Regions from separate parts of the Homo sapiens genome. Here regions 2, 3 and 4 are each linked to region 1. The links are contacts of gene promoters, found by promoter capture Hi-C in blood cells and fetal thymus (Javierre and others, 2016). All regions are on one chromosome and are shown on one strand. Each heading gives the region's core, a stretch centred on a gene start or on the middle of the fragment in contact. The rest is flanking DNA. Distances are from core to core; before and after follow the strand shown.

Region 1 (2,831 bases), core at 116-2,615:
ATTAAGTAAATATCAAAATTCCATTATGTAAGTGGCACATTCAGAAAGGTTAATCGGAAAGGTTATGCACAAAAATGGAACCACCCATGATACAAATTTGCTCACCCACCACGAAGAGGACAAAACATAAAAAGAACTTACCAAACATAGCACTGACTGAGCCGGCCATCAGCAGCCCTTGAGTCGAGTTGTACATCTCCACGTCAATCAAGCCCTTCCGGATGGTTTCGCTCACTTTGGCCCCCAGTAAGACAGAGCCCACTGTTTCAAAGATGCTAGCTAGGATGCAGGCTTGCTTCAGGGTCACTACACCTGAGCCCACAGCTGTACCAAAAGAATTTGCTACATCATTGGCTCCCACGGAGAATGCCAAGACAAATGCAATAATGAAGCCCAGGATGAGCATCCATAGGTAGTCCACCAAAGGACCAGAAGCGGCGGTAGCAGCTGTAGTACTGGTAATCAGCGTTGCCATTCTCTGGAGTAGTGGTTGTTTAGTAAGAGAACTACTGAGCGCCTTTCAAGATGTGTAAACAGAATATGAGGTATCAAAAATGCTATAATAAATAATATATATTATATAAAATTAAATACTGTAAACTACGGCACAGAAACCGAGCTGGGGAGTTACTGCTATACGCTGCGTATGGGCATCTGTTGTCTGGGGTTTCTTTGGCTCAGGAGGGCTAAAAGCACGGAGCAGAATTCCATGGCGGAGAAGAGAAAGGACGCAAGTTCATCCTGCGGGGGAGGGGGGAAATAACAATAGCTGCGTGCCCCTGGGGGGCCAGTGGGGCACCCCGCTCTACCCACGCGCCCGGGGTCCCGCAATAGCCTCTGCCGGCTACTCCAGACCCCCATCCCCAGTAGGACGCGCGAGAAGGAGAGGCACGTGGCTCCGGGTCCTCCGCGGCCCGCGCGCGCCCAGCCCAGCCCCTGCGCTGCCAGCCCGCGCGCGCCCTCCGCGCGAAAATCGGAAAAGGGCCGTTCCCGCGCGCGCCGCCCGGGGACCGCCAAAAAGGCCCGCGGGCGGGCAGACGGGCGGAGTGGAGGCGGCCAGCGGCGAAGAGAGAAGCCAGCCGCGCCGCCCACGGCGTCCGCCTCCAGCGCCACGGCGTCCGCGCCCGGCCCCGGGGAGAAGAAAGAGCCTTTACGAGGCGGCGCCACTACTCACCAGGGAAAAGGGAGGGCGGAGCGGGAGACGAGGAGATCGAGGCGACAGCGGCTGGAGCCACGGGCACACGGCCCGGGTCGGCGGCACCGGGGACAGCTCAGCGGGACTCACGACCTTCCCAGGAAGCAGCCGCGGGGGTTTCAGCGGCCGAGAAGAAGAACCACGCAGAGAGCGCCGGCAGCCATCACTCCAGCGGAGCACCCCGCCGGCCCCTACTTATAGCCCGCGCAGCGACCCGCGTGACCCCGCCGCGCCTCGCGCCGGCCCCGAAGCCCCGCCCCCGGCATGACGCAGCCCTCCTCGGCCCGGCGTGCCCAGCCGGGTGAGCCCGACGGTGGCGCTCATTGGCCCGGCCCGCTTCGGCGGCCACGCCCCCAGCGGGGAGCCGGTCCACGTGGGGCGGGACAGCCCCCTCCCTGCGGCCTCGCCCTGGAGTCTCGGCACCGTCTGGCCCCGCCGGCTGATTACAGCCAGAGATCGAGGGGGACCTCGCTGTCCCCCTAGAGGCCGTCATGCGGGGTTACAGAGGCTGCGACCAAAGTCATTCCTAGCTCCTCTCTCGGGGCTCCGGAAAGCCGTCCGCGCCTCCAGCCGCACTTTCAGCGCACGCAGGACCTGCCGCGCCCGGTGGCCACACCCGTCCCTCTGCCGGGTGACGCTGCGGGAGATCTTGCGCCCTGGGGCTCCGGATCCAGTTCTGGCACGTTGTTGCACCTGTGACTTGTCCTTGGCCTGGCACTGTCCCTCGCCTGGGGGAAGCGGGGGGGTGGGGGGGGGATGCTCACGTGGTCGCTTTGCTCCCGCAGTCATGCACTTGGGTGAAAACAGACTGAAGAGTCACGGGAACCAGCTTGTCTCCCCAGTTATGGCGCAGAGCTGCAAGGATGGCTGTGGGTCATTAATTTCTCCGTGGCTGACCTGTGTTTGTAACGCCGCAGCTGTTGCGAGGGGGAAGGACACTGCTTCGGATTCAAATTCTGACTCCTTGCTGCAGTGTGTCACCTTGAGCCAGTCCCAGATCTCTGCGTTCTCACAATTGTAAAATGTTAACAGAGGCTGCCTACCTTGTGGCTGGAATTAAATGAATTAACGTGTGTGAATGTGACTAGAATTCAGTACATGTTCAGGAAAAGCTGATTTCCGCTTTGCTGTTACCGTGAATATTACTGTTTTAGGGTGTAGAAAAGGGTGGAAGGGGATGTTATTGCATCCTGGAAGCTTATCCTTTTGAGGTAAAGATTGATTTCTGGTCCCCTGCGTGGTATATAGTGTAGTTTTGACATTATTTAGATGTGTTATGCACATTTGGGTGTTGATTATATGGCTTACGATCAAGACTAACCAGTCATGCCGTGGGAGATTAAGGTCGTGGTCTCTTGTCAGGATTGTAGTGAGATTTAAAAATTCCAGCCAGAAATACCAGGCTTAGAATGCTCTGAAGCCCTCCCCACATTTTTGCCATCTCTAGCAGGAGGGCACTGCATAGCAGAAACAAAGACGTTGTAAATTGTTGCTGCCTGAGTCATTTATAGAGGCTTAAACAACCTGAATGTCCTCTGACCTACCTGTAACATTTGATGGAGTTGTATGAGTAACTTACAAAGCTGTAGGTCCCAAGGTCGGTCTGAAAAAGAAAGTTCATATCCGGGAGCACTGA
Region 2 (3,064 bases), core at 405-2,904, 640 kb after region 1:
AAAAGAATTACTTTAAATTGCTTACCTTCACCCAGAATTTTTCCAAGAATTAGAAGATTCCTGTCAATCACAACATCTTCTAGTTTATTTTGTAGTTCCTCACTGACTCCCAAGCTATGTACTGAAAAAGGAGTAACATAGTATGTACAAAAATTGTCAGCGTGTTTTCTTTCACTTGATAATTAAAATGAAATAAAGTCCTGTATAATAAAACATTCCTTATTTATTTATTTATTTATTGAGCCAGAGTCTAGCTCTGTTGCCCAGGCTGGAGTGCAATGGTGCAACCTTGGCTCACTGCAACCTCTGCCTCCTGGGTTCAAGCGATTCTTGTGCCTCAGCCTCCCAAGTAGCTGGGACTGCAGGCATGCACCACCACACCCAGCTAATTTATGTATTTTCAGTAGAGACGGGTTTTATCATCTGGGCCAGGCTGGTCTCGAACTCCTGACCTCAAGTGATCTACCCACCTCGGCCTCCCAAAGTGCTGGGATTACAGGTGTGAACCACCATAGCCGGCCCCTTTTTTCATTTTGTATCTATTATTTCTCTCCCAAAAATGCCAGTAATAAAATTTCATACTTTAGAATGATTAAACTAAGTATAATGAATCCTTCAGGGCAAGGTTAATTCTGAAGAATTACAAAAATCAGAACCACATTTCTCATTCTGTTGTGTGGTAGCAGCAGCCGGTAATCAGATTCATGTAGGGGTGGTTTGCCTTTGACTTAAAGGGGTAAGGAAGATAAGTCAATAGGTAATTTCTGGTGAATTCTTTACTATTAATATTATACCCTTGACTACAGTATACAAAAGAACCACACGTCCCCTACCCTCCCATGCCATGGACGGAGTCTCACAAACCACAGGAAACATCTAGAGAATAAGCTCTTATTTTACATACTGTATATGAAACCTATTATAACAGCATAGCAAGGGCTAAATTGAGCACTTTGAGGAATTGGAGAAAAAGATTTTTCTATAATAAAATATATAATATAGTAAGGTATATAATAGATGAGTCATGTTGGCAACAAGAGAAATTAACCAGAAGGGGACCAGTTCAACAACTCTTGGCAAATGATTCAGTCTGGACCACAGTTAAGGCATGAACAAGCTCTTGAAAGATCAAAAAAATGTGGATAATTAGGACACATTAGTTCTCAGAGAAAAAGCTTTATCCAGTGGTTCTCCAATAAAGGAAAGAAAGTGGTCTAAATGACAAATTTTAAAATTTTAAATTAAAAAAAAAATTGAGGATATCTAAAAGTCAAAACTTACAGACTAGAAAGGTAAAGAAATTAATAATATTCTACACCAAGCAAGTTTCTATTTCATAGCAACCTGTATTCTGTCATTCTTATCTATTTTCTTTATTGGGGGCAAACATCCAGAAGCATGAATTTGTTAATATTTGCATGTCCTTTCTATACTTTTTCTGAAATTATTCAGGAACACTAGTGTCTGTTTATTTCCGCTGTTTAAACCAGAAGCCCCCACTCTCTGATTCAGCAAAGCTCAAACCATAATTACTATAAAGCATGTTGGCAAATCATCCTCGGAGTTGGTTGCCAGGAAAACAGGAAATGAGGCTTGAGATTATGTTCACTAGTTAGAAGTTTTCTTTAAATCCCTGGCCTCTACCCATCTTCTGTCACCCTAGAAGGTTCCTCTTTTCTGCCACATTTCATGACATTGTGAGTCCTTTTAACCCCAGGTCAAGCTCCTGATTGCAGTAAATTAGCCCACAGAGCTGTGCATGGCAATGTCTGGCTATCTACTTGCTGCTTTTAAAGACATTTTGTACATTAAAAATATCCATTCTTCTTCGACATCTTTGGCTTTTGTTAGAAATCTGTCTATTGATCCTTCTTTGTTCTCAACTATTTTAACTTTTGCCAAAAAGGGAAATGAAAGTCAACTTACAGGTAAGTTCAATGGCTCGCCGACAGAAGGATTTCTTTGCTATATAATTCACCACTAATTCAGAATCCTCCTCTGTGAATGCATTCCTGGGTGAATGAAAACAAAGATACTTCACTATAAAAACAGGGCTACTGGGGCAGGCACTGATTCCACAAGGATGCTACAGAGCTTCCGCTTTTCAATGGGCTCTTCTACAACAAAAGCTTTCCCCCTAGAAGAAACGTGTTTCTTTCCTTTGATTTATTTTAGACTTACTTGGCAATATTGAAACTACTCTAGCCAGGTACCGCCAAGAACAGAGAATAACAGATAAGCTCCCAGTGGCCAAAGCTGTAACAGTCTGAGCAAGAAACTAAAGTAATACTAGACTATGAGTATAAAATGAATATCCATAAGTCTATACTTATGAAAATATGATTGAATGAATGAATGGAAGAAAAGACACCAATCTCCTGTGGTGAAGAATTCCAAATATTTTATGTAGCTAGTAAGGGGTGGAGGGAGTTAAACCCTCATGCTGTCAATATGGGCTATGCATAGTGACTTGCTTCCAAAGAACAGTAGGGAAAGGGAGAAAAAATAACTTCATGGTAGAGAAACCCAGCAAATACTACTTCAGCCAGGTGATCAATGTCAACATCAACAGTGATACATCATGTTAATATGCACCCTTGATAAGAAGTGATGACAATGGCATTTTAATTCTGTGCTCCTCCTCTCAATCACCCATAACCCCTGCTCATTATCAGCAAAACATCGAACACATTGCAATAGAGGGGCATCCTACAAAACACCCGACTAACACTTCTGAAAACTGGCAAGATCATCAAAGACAAGGAAGGTCTAAGAAATGGCCACAGCCAAGAGGAGCCTAAGGAGATGTGATGACTGACTGTAAAATGTGGCATCCTGGAAGGGATCCCAGAACACTAAAGGGACATTAGGTGAAAATTAAGGAAATCTCAAGAAAGTAGAGATGTTAGTTAATGACAATGGATCAATATTGGCTCATTAACTGTAACAAATGTATTGTACTAATTGTCAGGACCCTGAGCCCAAGCTAAGCCATCATATCCCCTGTGACCTGCACGTATACACCCAGATGGCCTGAAGCAACCGAAGATCCACAAAAGAAGTG
Region 3 (3,049 bases), core at 295-2,794, 590 kb after region 1:
TGAGCCACCGCGCCCGGCCCCAATGATGGTTTTTAAGTAAGGATGAGCTGATCAGAAAGATCGTGTTGGTTGTCAAATTGGGAAACAGGAGCATAGGAGAGCCAGGGTGACACCATTTTAAAAATAACTCCATCTTAAAACTAGCAAGGTACATTTCTTGCCAGTCACCACCCATGGTCGTAAGATGTTTACAGTGGCTGGGCACGCCTGTAATCCCAGCACTTTGGGAGGTCAAGGCGGGTGGATAGTTTGAGCTCAGGAGTTTGAGACCAGCCTGGACAACATGGCGAAATCCTGTCTCTACACGAAATACAAAAATTAGCCAGGTGTGGTGGCGTGCCTGTGGTTCTGGCTACTCAAAGAAGCTGAGGCGGGAGGATCACTTGGGCCTGGGAGGCGAAAGTTGCAGTGAGCCCTGCACTCCAGCCTGTGTGACAGAGTCAGAACCTGTCACAAACAAAAAAAAGAAAGAAAGAGAAAGAAAGCAAGAAAAGGAAAAAAAAAAAAGGAAAATGAGGAAGGTTAGAATGAACTATAATGCTGGCTTGCAACTGATGATATCAGTGTGAACTCATTTTTAAAATTTAGTTTTATAAATAGATGTAGATATGTGTGTGTGTGTGTGTGTTTATATTTTCTTGCACTGATTCCCAGGAGGACCTAGAAGCAGCGACACCCCAGTAGCAATAGGTACATCTAGCACCAGATCTTGCTTTATAAATATCATTCTCCACTAAAATAAACCAGGGATCCTTGGAGAAGTGGCTGAGCCCAGGAATGGAATAGAGAAATTCATGATGAACTTGAGAATCTTGTTTTGCCAGAAAGTAAGGAAGTGGGTAAAAAATTATGAGGACACGTCAAAAAGGCATAGGAGCCAGTTTGAAGGAGCTCCCTTCCACTTACCAGATCTGGGACAATTTGGTCACCAAAATGATAGTAGTGGATTGTAACTCATTGACTCAAATAGGAATCCATGAGTCTATACTAACATAAATAAATAAATGATTACATAAATAGGAAAGAAAATCACTTTCTTACAGTTGGAAAACTAATAAATGCAGAAGGAATAACAAATTTAAAATATCACCATTTGGCAACTATCACAATTAAAATTGATTCAGAAAGAATCATCAATTCTATTCTAAAGTTAGTTGGCAAAAGCTTCATGAGGAAATATCTTCCAAAAATTACTTATTAATTACAAAGAGAAAAACAGTAATTATACAGTGGAGATACCTGGCAGACACCAACTTAATGATCAAGGTTAATCCCACAAGGATTGGGACAAACAGACATGATATGTATCATGATTTGATTAACTGAAAAGAAACAGCATGACTTCTGTGATATTCCTGCCAAAAATGCATGCCCAAAATGCAAAAATGCATCTAATCAAGCTATTCAAGGAAATGAGGAAAAAATTCACATACTTAAATCTAATCACAAGGAAACATCAGACAACCCAAATTGAAAGACATTCTACAAAGTAACTAGCTGGTATAATTTACCAAAAAAAAAAAAAAAAAAAAAATATATATATATATATATATATATATATATATATATATATATATGCCAGGTTCTTGAAACAGCTGAGGAAGTTAGAGGTTAAAGGAGACCCAAGAGACATGATAACTAAATGTGACATATAGGCCTAGCAGTCTGGAGCCTACACCAGAAAAATTGTTTTTGCTATTAAAATTCTTTAGACAATTGGTGAAATTTGAACAAGGACTTTAAGAAAATGGTATTGTCAATGTGAATTTCCTGAATGTGAAAATGGCACCGTTATCACACTAAGAGAAGGTCCTCTTTCTAGAGAAAAGCACACTGAAGTATTTAAAGGTAAGCGGGCACCACATCTGAACTTATTCTTTGGTGGTTACAAAAAACTTTTTATATATTATATATATAAGCTTTATATATGTATAACATGTATACCATCTCTATCTATCTATCAAGATAATCTAATAAAACCAATTTGAATGAAGAGTATGCAGGAGTTCTTTGTATTCTTCTTGCAACTTTTCTTTGAGTCTGAAATCATTTCAAAAGAAAAATTTCCAAAACTAAGAAAGAAGGGGGTAATCACTCTGTGGTTCTCCCTGTATATATGTTAATAAAATTTATATGCCTTTCTAAGAAGGAGGAGGAGGAAGGAAGAAGGAAGGGAGTATCTCACACCTCTCACATCCCATATAGGGATCCAACTTGGTGTCCTCCACAGCAGATGGAAAATTTATGATTACTTGGTAAAAATAGATTGATAGTCAACTGATTGCCAGAGTGCTTTACTCATTCTCTTTTGAGTCTTATGGGATTTAGAAAAACAAACAAACAAACAAACAAAACAGCTACCATATAATTTTTAATTTGAAAAATTAAATCCTGGAGCAAACAAAAATTGTCCAAAGAACAAATAAGGAAAAATTTGGCAATAGTTGACTGTAAGCTAGAACTGAAAGGCCCCCATCAATAGACCAGTCCTTCCTCTAGTGGAGTTTATTGCAGCTGTTATAAAACTGAATCACAGTTCAGAGGTTGCTGTGCAGGGAAATGAAAAGGCATTTGAGAACACGAAGTATCATGAGATCCTGAATTCAGTGCTATTAATGAGAGACTTTGGGGTATGGCTAACACCAAAAATGAATAGATGCTATTTTTGCATAAAAAGCTGTACATTTGATTCATTGCTTTTAATTAAAATATTGGATTGTATGAGAAATTTTGAGAGTATCATATAAAGCACCTTTTCCACATACTTCCATTTGCCTTCATTTAACTTTTTCTTCCCTAAATCAAAACTGATTTTAGTTTTGAGTTGAGGCTTATGGATATGTAAACATAAAGGTTGTTTTTCTGATATTTCCTCTTCATGTGCAACTTATATATCACATAAATTGTAGGGACCAGCCCCACAGGGTCAGTGGGTCTCTCCCCGTGTGTGGAGATGAGAGAGTGTAGAAATAAAGACACAAGACAAAGAGATAAAAGAAAAGGCAGCTGGGCCCAGGGGACCACTACCACCAAGTCGCGGAGACTGGTA
Region 4 (2,700 bases), core at 155-2,654, 750 kb after region 1:
TTGAGGGACGTACAAGCATCTTGTAGTTTCTTGCATAACACAGACAGTGCATGGAAGAGACCCTGTTCAATGTGCTGAACAACATAATGGGAGTATAGGTTTAAGGCCTTTGGGGGCATATATTTTAGGTAATGTAAACCATTTGAAATATTGAATCAAACACACATACACAAGTGCAGTCATATAATTGCCTTTTTTTTTTTTTTTGAGACCGAATCTTGCTCTGTCACCAGGCTGTTGTGCAGTGGCGTGATCTTGGCTCACTGCAACCTCCGCCTCCCAGATTCAAGCAATTCTCCTGCCTCAACCTCCCGAGTAGCTGGGACTATAGGTGTGTGCCACCACACCCAGCTAATTTTTGTATTTTTAGTAGAGACGTGGTTTCACCATGTTGGCCAGGATGGCCTCCATCTCTTGACCTCATGATCCACCTGCCTCAGCATCCCAAAGTGCTGGGATTACAGGTGTGAGCCACTGCGCCCGGCCAGTTGTATAATCGTTAAGTGGAAGTTAAACGGTTTCACTGCTAAAAAATTACTGACCAGATCCAACATCTCGAGTTTGTTACAGTAAGAGGACACAATATAGCAAATAGCAGTAAAGTAAGAATAAGCATCTCAGTCAAAGGCTATTCATGGCCAGATAGGCCAGGTGCCAGCTCCTTTGTCCTAATTTCTGTAAGGAACGTGGCAGGATGCACTTTCTCTGTTGGATCAAAAACCATTGATGTGTGCATGGAACACCTCAGAAATGGGATCGAAAATGGAGTCTCAGCTGGGGATTTTTATATTTTGCTGGTCATCGGCATAGTCTTAAGGCATAACCAGCCTCAACAGCAGAGCCCTGTGGCAGGGGTTGGAGGGGTCTCGCTGAGACCAGGTGCAAATCATTTATCTCATTGTTTTCGAAAAGCAAAGTTGATGGTAGTACAAGTTTCCCTGAAGCTCCTCAGACTGATGGTTAAAAAGCAACATTATTAATCAATATGCTTCATGCTCTTGGCCAGGGGTCATTGCCACGCAGGAACTTCAAAACAGTTCAAGCTAATTTCAGGCCTGCTGGAATTAACCCTCACAGTACAATAGCTTTTATAGTTGTTGTAAAGTGAAATAGTACAAGTAAAACACTCCATTCAGCACAGTGAACACGATACTGGAATAAAGTATTTCCTTTAGTGGTTTCTTGGAGTGTCTTTCAAGATAATCCATCCAATAGGCTGAAAAACTCATTAAAAGTAAAATCTCACTCTCATCCCATTGGAAATGGGGCAGCACCATTTAAAGATGCTCCTCATTGTGTTGAACAAGGTACAGAAGGCCAATTGTTGAGCTTTTATAGTTGGTGGGTAAGTGACAACCTATTTAGCATCCTGGAAGAGGCATGAGAAGCATATCTAAGTGTTACAGTTTGTTAGAAAAATGAGCTAGGGCCAGGTGCGGTGGCTCACGCCTGTAATCCCAGCAGTTTGGGAGGCCAAGGCGGGCAGACCATGAGATCAGGAGATGGAGACCATCCTGGCTAACGTGGCGAAACCCCATCTCCACTAAAAATACCAAAAAAATTAGCCAGGCGTGGTGGCACATGCCTGTAGTCCCAGCTATTCAAGAGGCTGAGACAGGAGAATTGCTTGAACCTGGGAAGCGAAGGTTTCAGTGAACCAAGATGGCACCACTGCACTCCGGCTGGGGTGACAGAGCGAGACTCCATCTCAAAAAAAAAAAAGAAAAATGAGCTAGTGGGCTAGGCATGGTGGCTAATGCCTGTAATCCCAGAACTTTGGGAGGCCAAGGAGGGCAGATCACCTGAGGTCAGGAGTTAGAGACCAGCCTGGCTAACATGGTGAAACCCTGTATCTATTAAAAAAAATAAAAAAAATTAGCTGGGCATGGTGGTGCATGCCTGTAGTCCTAGCTACTCGGGAGGCTGAGGCAGGAGAATCACTTGAACCTGGGAGGTGAGGTTGCAGTGGGCTGAGATCACACCACTGCACTCCATCCTGGACCACAGAGCGAGACTCTATCTCAAAAAAAAAAAAAAAAATGAGATAGTGTATTTTTTCACTGTGCTGAGAAGTACAGTGGAAGTTGCCTTGTCTGGCACTTGTGTCTGTTATGGAATTGAGAGTTCTGTCATGATACTTCCTTTAACATGCTCAGCCACATACTAGGAGGCCAAGAGCCCAGTTTTTGAAATTGTTGGGGTGTAATGATGGAGAACCTAGGACATTTCATTCCATGTGCTGAACAACAGACTGGAAATACTAGTATCCAGCTTATGTAATTTGTTGGGGGGAGGTTGGGGAGGCAAAGTCAGGTTGTGTGTTTAAAAGGCTCAAATCACCACAGTCAACTGCATATGGGAAGTACAATTATTAGAGCATGTAGAGGCTGCATTTCGAGAGGTGAACAATAAAGTGGAAGGATCAGTGTCTAGCCCTTATAGCTTTTGGAAACTTGAGATAGTATAGGTACAAAACTCCTTTCACTATGCTGAACAATATCTATGATGTGCAAATGTTTAAACATTAGGGTTCACTGGGGCACTGAAATGATGCTTAGAGGGGTCTCAAGTCAGCATAAAGCCATACTGGGAATACAAAGTCTAGCACTTGAAGATTGAGGGAAAGTGAGACGGTGGATGTAGGCCGGGCACAGTGGCTCATGCCTGTAATCCCAGCACTATGGGAGGCTGAGGCAGGCA

What was found. Contacts are between HindIII fragments. The CHiCAGO score rates a contact against its expected background, and 5 or more counts as called.
Region 2: a fragment that was not itself captured here is called in contact with the fragment with the promoter of SLC20A1 in region 1 in 1 of 17 cell types (monocytes); the score reaches 5.5 in monocytes.
Region 3: a fragment that was not itself captured here is called in contact with the fragment with the promoter of SLC20A1 in region 1 in 4 of 17 cell types (fetal thymus, total CD8 T cells, non-activated CD4 T cells and 1 more); the score reaches 7.5 in fetal thymus.
Region 4: a fragment that was not itself captured here is called in contact with the fragment with the promoter of SLC20A1 in region 1 in 1 of 17 cell types (fetal thymus); the score reaches 7.6 in fetal thymus.

Annotation. Positions count from the first base shown.
Region 1 is chr2:112,644,473-112,647,303 of GRCh38, reverse strand. It overlaps SLC20A1 (solute carrier family 20 member 1), which reads right to left and starts at 1,365. Exons shown (of 11, transcript NM_005415.5): 1 at 1,175-1,365; 2 at 142-741. The coding sequence starts at 475. RefSeq lists silencers at 118-412, 874-1,703. The HindIII fragment of the contact is 3,268 bases long and covers 1-2,394 here.
Region 2 is chr2:112,000,149-112,003,212 of GRCh38, reverse strand. MERTK (MER proto-oncogene, tyrosine kinase) reads right to left here. Exons shown (of 19, transcript NM_006343.3): 11 at 1,927-2,012; 12 at 26-121. Among named protein-coding and RNA genes, the nearest start is that of TMEM87B, 54 kb to the left of the region's middle. The HindIII fragment of the contact is 954 bases long and covers 1,178-2,131 here.
Region 3 is chr2:112,049,994-112,053,042 of GRCh38, reverse strand. No RefSeq gene overlaps it. Among named protein-coding and RNA genes, the nearest start is that of TMEM87B, 3.8 kb to the left of the region's middle. The HindIII fragment of the contact is 755 bases long and covers 1,167-1,921 here.
Region 4 is chr2:111,891,786-111,894,485 of GRCh38, reverse strand. No RefSeq gene overlaps it. Among named protein-coding and RNA genes, the nearest start is that of MERTK, 5.5 kb to the left of the region's middle. The HindIII fragment of the contact is 6,163 bases long and covers 1-2,700 here.